Regions from separate parts of the Homo sapiens genome. Here all the other regions are linked to region 2. The links are contacts of gene promoters, found by promoter capture Hi-C in blood cells and fetal thymus (Javierre and others, 2016). All regions are on one chromosome and are shown on one strand. The core of a region is centred on a gene start or on the middle of the fragment in contact, and the rest is flanking DNA. Distances in the headings are between cores, read along the strand shown.

Region 1 (2,901 bases), core at 195-2,694, 270 kb after region 2:
CCTGCTGGCCATGGCTCACGTGGACCTGACCGGGGATGGGCTGCAGGAGCTTGCCGTGGTCTCCCTGAAGGGCGTGCACATCCTGCAGGTATCCCCAGCTCTTGGGGTGGGAGGGGAGTCGACCTCAGCAGTTTCGAGCAGGGGGTGCAGGCCTCCTCCTGGGGGAGGGAGGAACTCATTTCAGGGAGGCAGTTCCTACCAGTCAGGACAACTCCCAGGAGAAAGGGGCAGCTGTGAGCGCTCACAGCAGCTGGGGTGGGGGCACCGGCCTGGTGAAGGAGATTTATTTATTTATTTATTATTTTATTTTTGAGACAGAGTCTTGCTCTGTCACCCAGGCTCTAGCGCAGTGACTCGATCTCAGCTCACTGCAACCTCCACCTCCCAGGTTCAAACAATTCTCATGCCTCAGCCTCTCAAGCAGCTGGGAAATACAGCCGCACGCCACCACGCCCAGCTAATTTTTGTATTTTTAGTAGAGACGGAGTTTCACCATGTTGCCCAGGTTAGTCTCAAACTTCTGGCCTCAAGTCATCCGCCCACCTCGGCCTCCCAAAGTGCTAGGATTACAGGTGTGAGCCACCACACCCTGGCCTTTTTTTTTTTTTTTTTGGTTTTTTTGTTTGTTTGTTTGTTTTCGAGACAGAGTCTTGCTCTGTTTCCCAGGCTGGAGTGCAGTTTCCCAGGCTGGTGTGCAGTGGTGTGATCTCAGTTCACTGCAACCTCCACCTTCCAGGTTCAAGTGATTGTCCTGCCTCAGCCTCCCTAGTAGCTGGGATGACAGGCACCTGCCACCAAGCTTGGCTAAATTTTATATTCCTTTTATATTCCTTCTAATCTCACTTCCTTACATTTGGGTCTAGGCTTTGTCCCTCCCACTAGAAATTCGCTTAAGGCCACTCCCCTTCACCCCTGTCACAGAGGCCCATTCCCATCCCACACACTGTGGTCTGCTCTCTGCCCTCCCACGTGGGCCGAGCTCCTGGCCTTTGGAGTTGCTTCACTCCAGACGGTCCCGCTGTGGTCCCACAGCTCTTCCTCAGCTCCATCCCCCTCATTCTCTTGTTCCCCACAGCACAGCCTGATTCAGGCCTCAGAGCTGGTCTTGACCCGGCTTCGACATCAAGTGGAGCAGAGGAGACGTCGGCTACAGGGGTTGGAGGACGGGGCAGGTGCAGGGCCTGCTGAGAATGCAGCCTCTTAAGCACCCATGCACCCACTCTTCCCAGACCTGGGGCGACTCATGGCGTGCTCACCTCCAGCCGCTGGTGGGGGGTGTCCTGAAGGACAGGATGCTCTCCCCAGACCTCCCCAGGGTGGTGAAGCTGTGCCCTGGGGCCCCAGCTAACCCACTCCTCTCTCTGTACGTCAATGTCCCTATTTGAAAGCAGGGATGATCCCATTCCACCCTGTCCACTCTGGATGAGAATTGGCCACCTGATGGTTATTTATACGTCCAGAAGAACATCATTTCCCAGTTGTCTCGATTCTTTTTTTCGGCAAGCATTTGGTGAGCACCTGCTGTATGCCTGGCTCTGTGTTGGATGCTGGATTCACCCAGAGGAATTGAGGGAGAGGGATTTGGGGGAGAGGGAATCCAAGGCTAGACCCAGATACAGGCCGGAGGTTAGATCCCAGGGTAGAACCCAAGAGAAAGAAATGGGGTGACACCTTAGCAGAAAGGCTAAAAGTTAAACCACTGTGGAACAGATTACGTAAAATGGAAGGGAAAGAGCTGAGGTTAGACCCTAGTGGAGAGAGCTGACATGAGACCCCAGTGGAAAGATCTAGATCTAAGGGTAGATCCCAGTGGAAAGGTAAGGAGCTTGAGCGTTTAGAGGAAAACTTGTGGGTAGAAAGGGCTGCTGTGGGAAAGCAGTGGTCCATTTGTAGCAGAGGGTCTGAGGCTAGACTCCCTATGAATAATGCTGAGGTTGGACCCCAACAAAAAATTGCTATGGCCAGATCCTGTGCAAGGGGCCAGGGTTAAACCCCAGCAGAAAGTGAGCTTAGTTCCCAGTGGAGAGCACTGAGGCAAGACCCAGGGAGAAGACCCAGGCTAGACCATGCTGGAAAGGGCTAAGCTTAGACCTAATCTAAAAAGCCTAGGGGGTTGGGGGCCCAGGGAGTGGGAGACAAGCCTGATTCTCCCAGCCTGTGGTGGTAGGAGTTGCCTTGCCTGTGGTCTTTTGTGTGTGTGTGAGAGACGGAGTCTCATTCTGATGCACTGGTTGGAGTGCAGTGGCGCGATCTCGGCTCACTGCAACCTCCACCTCCTGGTTCAAGCGATTCTCCTGCCTCGGCCTCCTGAGTAGCTGGGATTACAAGCGTACGCCACCACGCCTGGCTAATTTTTTTGTATTTTTAGTAGAGACAGGGTTTCACCGTGTTGGCCAGGCTGGTCTCAAACTCCTGACCTCAGGTGATCTGCCCGCCTCGGCCTCCCAAAGTGCTGGGATGACAGGCGTGAGTCACTGAGCCCGGCCTCCTGTGCTCCGTTCTGTATTACCAGGAGAAGGAATCAGAGGCCTGTGTCTCTAGGATCAGTGGAGGGTGGGAACGATGGAAGTCTTGTCCTCCGTCCACTGCAGGCCAGGAATAGAATCTGGGTCAGCAGGGTTGGGGGATGATCATTCCCTGGGCCGTATCCAGGCTGGGGGCAGGGGTTGGGCAGGACATCTGCTTCCTGGGGGTTCAGGGGAGAGGCAGACACCGTAGTCATTTTGGCCATCTGTCTACCTCCCGCTATGGAGGTCCACTCAGAAGTCTGACCACCAGCACTGACAGGGAAGACCCAGCCACCAGTTCTCTACCGAGCGTTTATGGGAGTTAGGAGCTCAGCAACTCCTGGCCACCCCTGTCTTCACCCTCTTTCCCAGAAGCCAGGCCCAGGCGTGGGAA
Region 2 (2,872 bases), core at 276-2,775:
GAATAACCGCCATTCCACACCACAAAAGCCTCTCCTCACCTTTTTCCTTGGAGCCAGTGTCCACGAAGAAGAGTTTTTCATTTGGGGCCTCTGACAACAAGCCACTGGGGGACAGAAATGCAGAACATCAGCCAGAGATGTTGGAGAGGAAAGAGATTTAACCTGGCAGGTCCAGCCTTCATCTTCCGCTTAGTCAAGTCCCGCCACCGGACTCTTCCAGGCTAAGGCTTCGCCCAGCAGTTTACAGAACTTAGTATTTAGGAAGGACTGCCAGGCGCAGTGGCTCACGCCTGTAATCCCAGCACTTTGGGAGGCCCAGGCGGGTGGCTCACCTGAGGTCAGGAGTTCAAGAGCAGCCTGGCCAACATGGTGAAACCCTGCCTTTACTAAAAATACAAAAATTAGGCTGGGTGTGGTGGCTCACACCTGTAATCTTAGCACCTTAGGGGGCCGGGGCGGGTGGATCACCTAAGGTCAGGAGTTCAAGACCAGCCTGGCCTGTAACATGGCAAAACCCTGTCTCTACTAAAAATACAAAAATTAGCCGGACGTGGTGGTGCATGCCTGTAATCCCAGCTACTTGGGAGGCTGAAGCAGGAGAATCACTTGAACCCAGGAGGCAGAGGTTGCAGTGAGCCGAGATCGTGCCATTGCACTCCAGCCTGGACTACAGAGAAAGACTCCGTCTCAAAAAAAAAAGAAAAAAGAAAAGAAAAGAAAAATAGCCGAGCGTGGTGGCGCCCGCCTGTAATCCCAGCTACTAAGGAGCTGAGGCAGGAGAATCGCTTGAGCCTGGGAGGCGGAGGTTGCGGTGAGCTGAGATCGCGCCTACTCCAGCCTGGGCGATAGAGCGAGACTCCGTCTGAAAAACATATATATATACATATATATACACACACACATATACACATATATATATACACACATATACACATATATATACACACACATATATACATACACACACACACATATTTAGAAAACAGCAAGCTAAGGTGGATGCATGGAACGTATTTATGCTAAAAATTATTCATTGTTTACCTAAAATCCAAATTTAATTGAGCGTCCTGTATATTTATCTGCTAAATCTGGTAACTCTATCAAGCTCTCCAGCTTCCCATGCTGAGTCCCCTGCCCATGCTCTCCATTTCCTCGGCGGTCCCCGGGACAGGAGCCCCCAACCCCCGACCCCCGACCCCCGACCCCCGACGAGTCCACGCAAGCACGCCTGGCCTTGCACCTGGGCGCAGGAACCGTCCCACCTCCCGGAAGTCCCGCCCAACGTACCCGCTCGTGCGCTCCTGTAGCCGCACGTCTTCCAGGAACTGGTCAACCTCCAGCCCCAGCGGCTCCTGAGCAAGCCGCCGCCAGCCCCGCTTCTTATTTCTTGGGCCTCGCCGCCGCCGCCTCAGCGCTGGGTCCACCGAAGTGGGCCGCAGCCCCAGGAAACCAGAATCGGCATCGCTTTTCGAGCTGCGCTTCCCACCAACGCCACTGCCTCCTGCCGCCATCTTGTCAAAGGAAGAACTCAGCCACTGGCGTCCCAAAAAGCCCCTTTGCAGCGTGCGCGCGCAGATTTCCCACCCTCTTCCGTGACGTACTTCCTGTGGCAGCCATATTTATAAAGTGACTGGAGTTGCCAGGAGGCTGCCATCTTGGTAAAGGATAAATGGCTCCTCCTTCCTCCATTCTTTACAGCGGGATCTGAAGATTCCTAACGGCGGCGGGTGGTAGGAAAGAGACGGGAAGGTTGCAGGTTCTTAGCTTTCGCCCTTAAGCGAACACCTTTCCCGGCCGCCTGGGGTCTTTGCTCAAACTGATTTTTTTCTTTAATAGATAAGGTCTCACTTTGTTGCCCCCAGGCTGGAGTGCAGTGGAAGGGTAATGGCTCACTGCAGCCTCCAACTCCTAAGCTCAGGGATTCTCCTACCTCAGCCTCCCGAGTAGCTGCGACCACAGAAGGGTGCATCCGCACCTGGCTAATTTTTTATTTTTATTTTTTGTAGAAATGGAGCCTCCCCATGTTGCCCAGGCTGGTCTCAAACATCTGGTTTCAAGTGATCCTCCTTCCTAGGCCTCCCAAAGCGCTGGGATTACAGGCTCACACCACCACTCCCGGTCCAAACTGATGTGTGTGTGTTTTTTTTTAAGAGACAAAGGTCTCACTATGTTGTCCAGGCTGGTCTTGAACCCCTGGGCTCAAGTGATTCTCCCTCCTCAGCCTCCGAAAATGCTAGGATTACAGATGTGAGCCACCATGCTCGGCCTGATTATTTTTTAATCTCGTTTTCTTAGAAAGTCAGAACCGTCAGTGGCAGATTCCGCACAACACACATTCCAATCTCAGAAGTTTTGTCCTCTCAAATGTTCCAATCCTAGGATCTTAGAAATCAAGTAACTTTCGGAATATCAAAGTTGGAAGCACAGAACATTAGAGGAATGTTAGAAACATACACTTTTAGGACCCTAGAAGTGCAGACTCAGAATCATTCATCTTGAGCGGGCTACTTCACTGTGCCTCAGTTTCCTCATCTGTAAAATAAAGATGATAACAGTACATCTGCGTCATAAGTCATGCAGAAGATTAAACATATGTAAAGCGCTTAAGGCTGCGTCTGGCATCTGAGTGTTAGCTATTGTTACTGCCTTGCCCTCTGAGGCTTCATCTTAGAATCAACTCATCTTTGTCATTTACAAATAAGGAAGGAAGCTCAGAGGCTCTTGGGCCCTGGCAGCCATTCAAAGGGATCCATGGCAGGGCGTGGTGATTCACGCCTCTAATCCCAGCACTTTGGGAGGCCGATGCAGGAGGATCGCTTGAGCCCAGGAATTCAAGACCAGCCTGGGCAACATAGTGAGATCCTGTGTCTGC
Region 3 (2,930 bases), core at 263-2,762, 330 kb after region 2:
GCCACCTGCTCCCTCCCCCTGGGAACAGAAGGGTCCCAGGACTATTTAAGGGAGACAGCCAGGAAGAGAGAGAGAGAGAGAGAGAGAGAGAGAGAGAGTGTGTGTGTGTGTGTGTGTGTGTGTGTGTGAGAGAGAGAGAGAGAGAGCGAGAGACAGAGACGGACAGACAGACGGATGGACAGACAGAGGGAAAGACTGGAGGAAGAGCCTCAGAAAGCCGGAGCCTCCCCCCTGCTCCCTCCGTCCCCCGCCGGCATCCTCCATCCTCCCCCAATCAATTTCTCTCCCACACACTTATTTCTCCCTTCCCAACAGCTCGTCTCTTTCTTTAATTAGAAAGATTTATGCTTCAGAGTCCAAGCCCCCTGCTCTTGTTTTGGGGGTGGCAGGGACGACTCCAGGGTCTCTATTGGAGCTCCTGTCCCCCACTCCCTCCCCCTCCTGTCTGTCTCACTCTGTCTGCACCTCTCTCTCTCTCTCCTCCCACCCGCGTCTGTCTCTGTCTCTCTCTCTCTCTGAATCACACCGTCACTGGAGTTACCTCCCTCCCCACTCCAGTTAGGCCCCATCCCCATCCCAGGTGCCCCCTCCCTCCCTTCCTGCTCTGTCCACGCCCCCCACCACTGGCCGTCAGATGAGGCCGCACTTGCTCCTCTAGGTTTCAGAATCAGCCTGGGCTAAGGGGACCTTAGCATGCACCACCCCCCAAAAAAGCAAATAGAGCCAGAGACTCCTAACCCTTGCATCCCTCACCCCAAGTCTTGGCTGAGGGTGAGGTGGGGGTGGAGCAGACCAAAGGGCCTTGTGTCTTTAATTAAAAAGTGATTTAAATTAATTTTCTGCTCCAAAACCCCTATCTGGGGTGCGCCGGCCTTGAGGAAAGGCAAGGCCTCCAGACCCTTCCCCTCGGACTGCCTTAAACGGCCAGCCTCACCGCAGGACAGCCACGGGGGCAGAGCCCGCCGGCATGGGGACCCCCAGACTCAGCCAAGACCCTGAGTCCTGGCACCCTCTAGCTTAACTGTTTCTCCGTTATCCACAGCCCACCCCCGCCGCCCCCAGCGCACTGCCCATCCTGCAGAGGGGGAATCGAGCCTCAGAGAGGGGAGAGCCTACGGTGGGACCAGACTCCAGATTCCCACGTGACCCCTGGAGATGGCCAGGGAGGGGGTCCGTGGTGTGTCCAGGGGGCTCGGAGAACAGAGAGCCAGAGGAGAGAAAGGACGGGAGAAGCGGAGACAGAGAGAGACAAGGAGAGAGAGACTGGGAAAGAGGGAGACTGAGAAACCCGGAGCAGGAACCCCAGCCCTGGGTAGGAGAGGAGGGGCCTGGGGGCACCAGGGCCGCGGTCTCTTCCTCTCCTCCCCCCACAGCCTGCCCCTCCCCGACTCCCACCGGAAGTGCTGCTGCTGCCCTAACCCCAATCCCTCGTGCTGTAGCTCTGCAGGCTCACTCTGGCTCATCCCCTATCCCGCTCCTTGGTGGTTCTGTTTAATTTCCACAAGACAAGGGAGAGACCGGGAACGGGGAGCGCGGCTGCCAGCACCCCTGAGCCGCCGCCGGACCCTCCGTCGCCCCGGGCCGCCCCCCGCCCCCTGCGGTCCCCGGTGTGTCCGTCTCGGGACGGTTCGATTCCCTCCAGAGCCGGGGAAGGGACGGGGGGGGCCCAGAGGAGGGGGCCTCGGGCGCCCCGCCTGCGCCTGCTGCCCCCGCCCCGGCGGCGATGCGCTCCTGGCCGTGACCCCCGCTGGGGGCGGGGGCCGGGGTCCATGCGCGGAGTCCCCACCCGGCCCGGCGCCTGCCGCTGACGGCGGCGGGGGTGGGGGGGCGCGCGCCTGGCCTCCTGCCCACCCCCTGGCGTCAACACCGCGGGCCGTCAGGGGCTGCGGCCCCGGGCTGCGCCCTCCCCCGCGGCCAGGCTCTGGAGGGACCCAGGAGCTGCCGCCGGCCTCAGCCCATGGCCCGGAGGGTAGGTCTCGGGGCGGGGACCCCGCGTCCCGGCCGCTTCCGCACCCCCTGTCCCTGCATCCCCCACTCTCCGGCGCTGGCCCCCATTAGCCCATCCGTCCTCTACACCACCTCGCTCTCTCTCTGCCCCTCCCTCCGCCCCTGGGTCTCCCAGTCCCTGTGTGCCCCCTCTCTGCCCCCAAGTGTCTCTTCCTGGCCCTCGGCCTCGCCTCCTCCCCATCGTTTAGCTTCTCCTTCTCCCTGCCCCTCTGTCCCCCTCTGTCTGCCCCACTCTCCTCCTCCTTTCTGCCTCTCTGTCCCCCTCTCTCTGTCCCTGGTCTCCCCCCTCTTTCTGCCTCTCTATCCCCCTCTCTCTGCCCTCCCCCACCCGCAGTCTCTCTCCTCTGTTCCTGGGCTTCCTCCTCCATCTCAGCCGCCCGCACCTCACCGTCCCCCCTTTTTTCTGCTCTCCTCCGTCCTTCCCTTCGCTCTACTTTTGTTCCAAGCCGCCCCTGCCTCTCCAGGGCTAGGAGTGGGACAGGGGTGGGAGAGGTGGTCTCACCAGGCTGCTGGCCCCACGGAGCCTGTCTCCCTGGGGATGGGAACGGGGATAGAAGACAGGGGAGGAGGCGCGCGCCCGTTTTGGGGGTTCCGGGTAGGCTGTGAGGACCGCTTTTGGTGAGAGTGCCTTGAGCAGCGGGGAGCAGTTGGATTCAACTTCAGGGCACAGGAGAAGTTAGGAGAAGAGGGAGAGGGAAAGAGTGGGACACACAGAACCAGGGTGCCCAGCCAGGCGAGGGTCCGAGGCAGGAACGTTCTAGCCTCTTCCCGTGCGAGTCCTGCTGCCTCTTTGAGCCTCCGTGTCTTCATCACTGAGGAAGGGATTTGACCTGATGAGAGGAAGGTGCCCCTGGCTTCCCAGGTGCATGGTTCTGTGACGACAGGACGCGGTCGTCCTACCCCATAATGGTGTTTCTCTTGGG

The links. The method cuts DNA at HindIII sites, captures the fragments that hold promoters and counts their contacts. A CHiCAGO score of 5 or more calls a contact.
Region 1: a fragment that was not itself captured here is called in contact with the fragment with the promoter of NOP53 in region 2 in 5 of 17 cell types (M1 macrophages, endothelial precursors, naive CD4 T cells and 2 more); the score reaches 5.5 in M1 macrophages.
Region 3: a contact is called between the fragment with the promoter of MEIS3 here and the fragment with the promoter of NOP53 in region 2, in 2 of 17 cell types (M0 macrophages and activated CD4 T cells). The highest score is 5.4, in M0 macrophages.

Annotation. Positions count from the first base shown.
Region 1 is chr19:47,473,719-47,476,619 of GRCh38, reverse strand. KPTN (kaptin, actin binding protein) reads left to right here. Exons shown (of 12, transcript NM_007059.4): 11 at 1-88; 12 at 1,076-1,470. The coding sequence ends at 1,204. Among named protein-coding and RNA genes, the nearest start is that of SLC8A2, 3.3 kb to the right of the region's middle. The HindIII fragment of the contact is 1,285 bases long and covers 802-2,086 here.
Region 2 is chr19:47,744,199-47,747,070 of GRCh38, reverse strand. It overlaps NOP53 (NOP53 ribosome biogenesis factor), which reads right to left and starts at 1,525. Exons shown (of 13, transcript NM_015710.5): 1 at 1,288-1,525; 2 at 40-104. The coding sequence starts at 1,511. RefSeq lists enhancers at 332-832, 1,253-1,642. The HindIII fragment of the contact is 20,370 bases long and covers 1-2,872 here.
Region 3 is chr19:47,418,109-47,421,038 of GRCh38, reverse strand. MEIS3 (Meis homeobox 3) reads left to right here and starts at 1,512. Exons shown (of 13, transcript NM_001301059.2): 1 at 1,512-1,969. The coding sequence starts at 1,958. RefSeq lists enhancers at 1,432-2,425, 2,426-2,930. The HindIII fragment of the contact is 31,601 bases long and covers 1-2,930 here.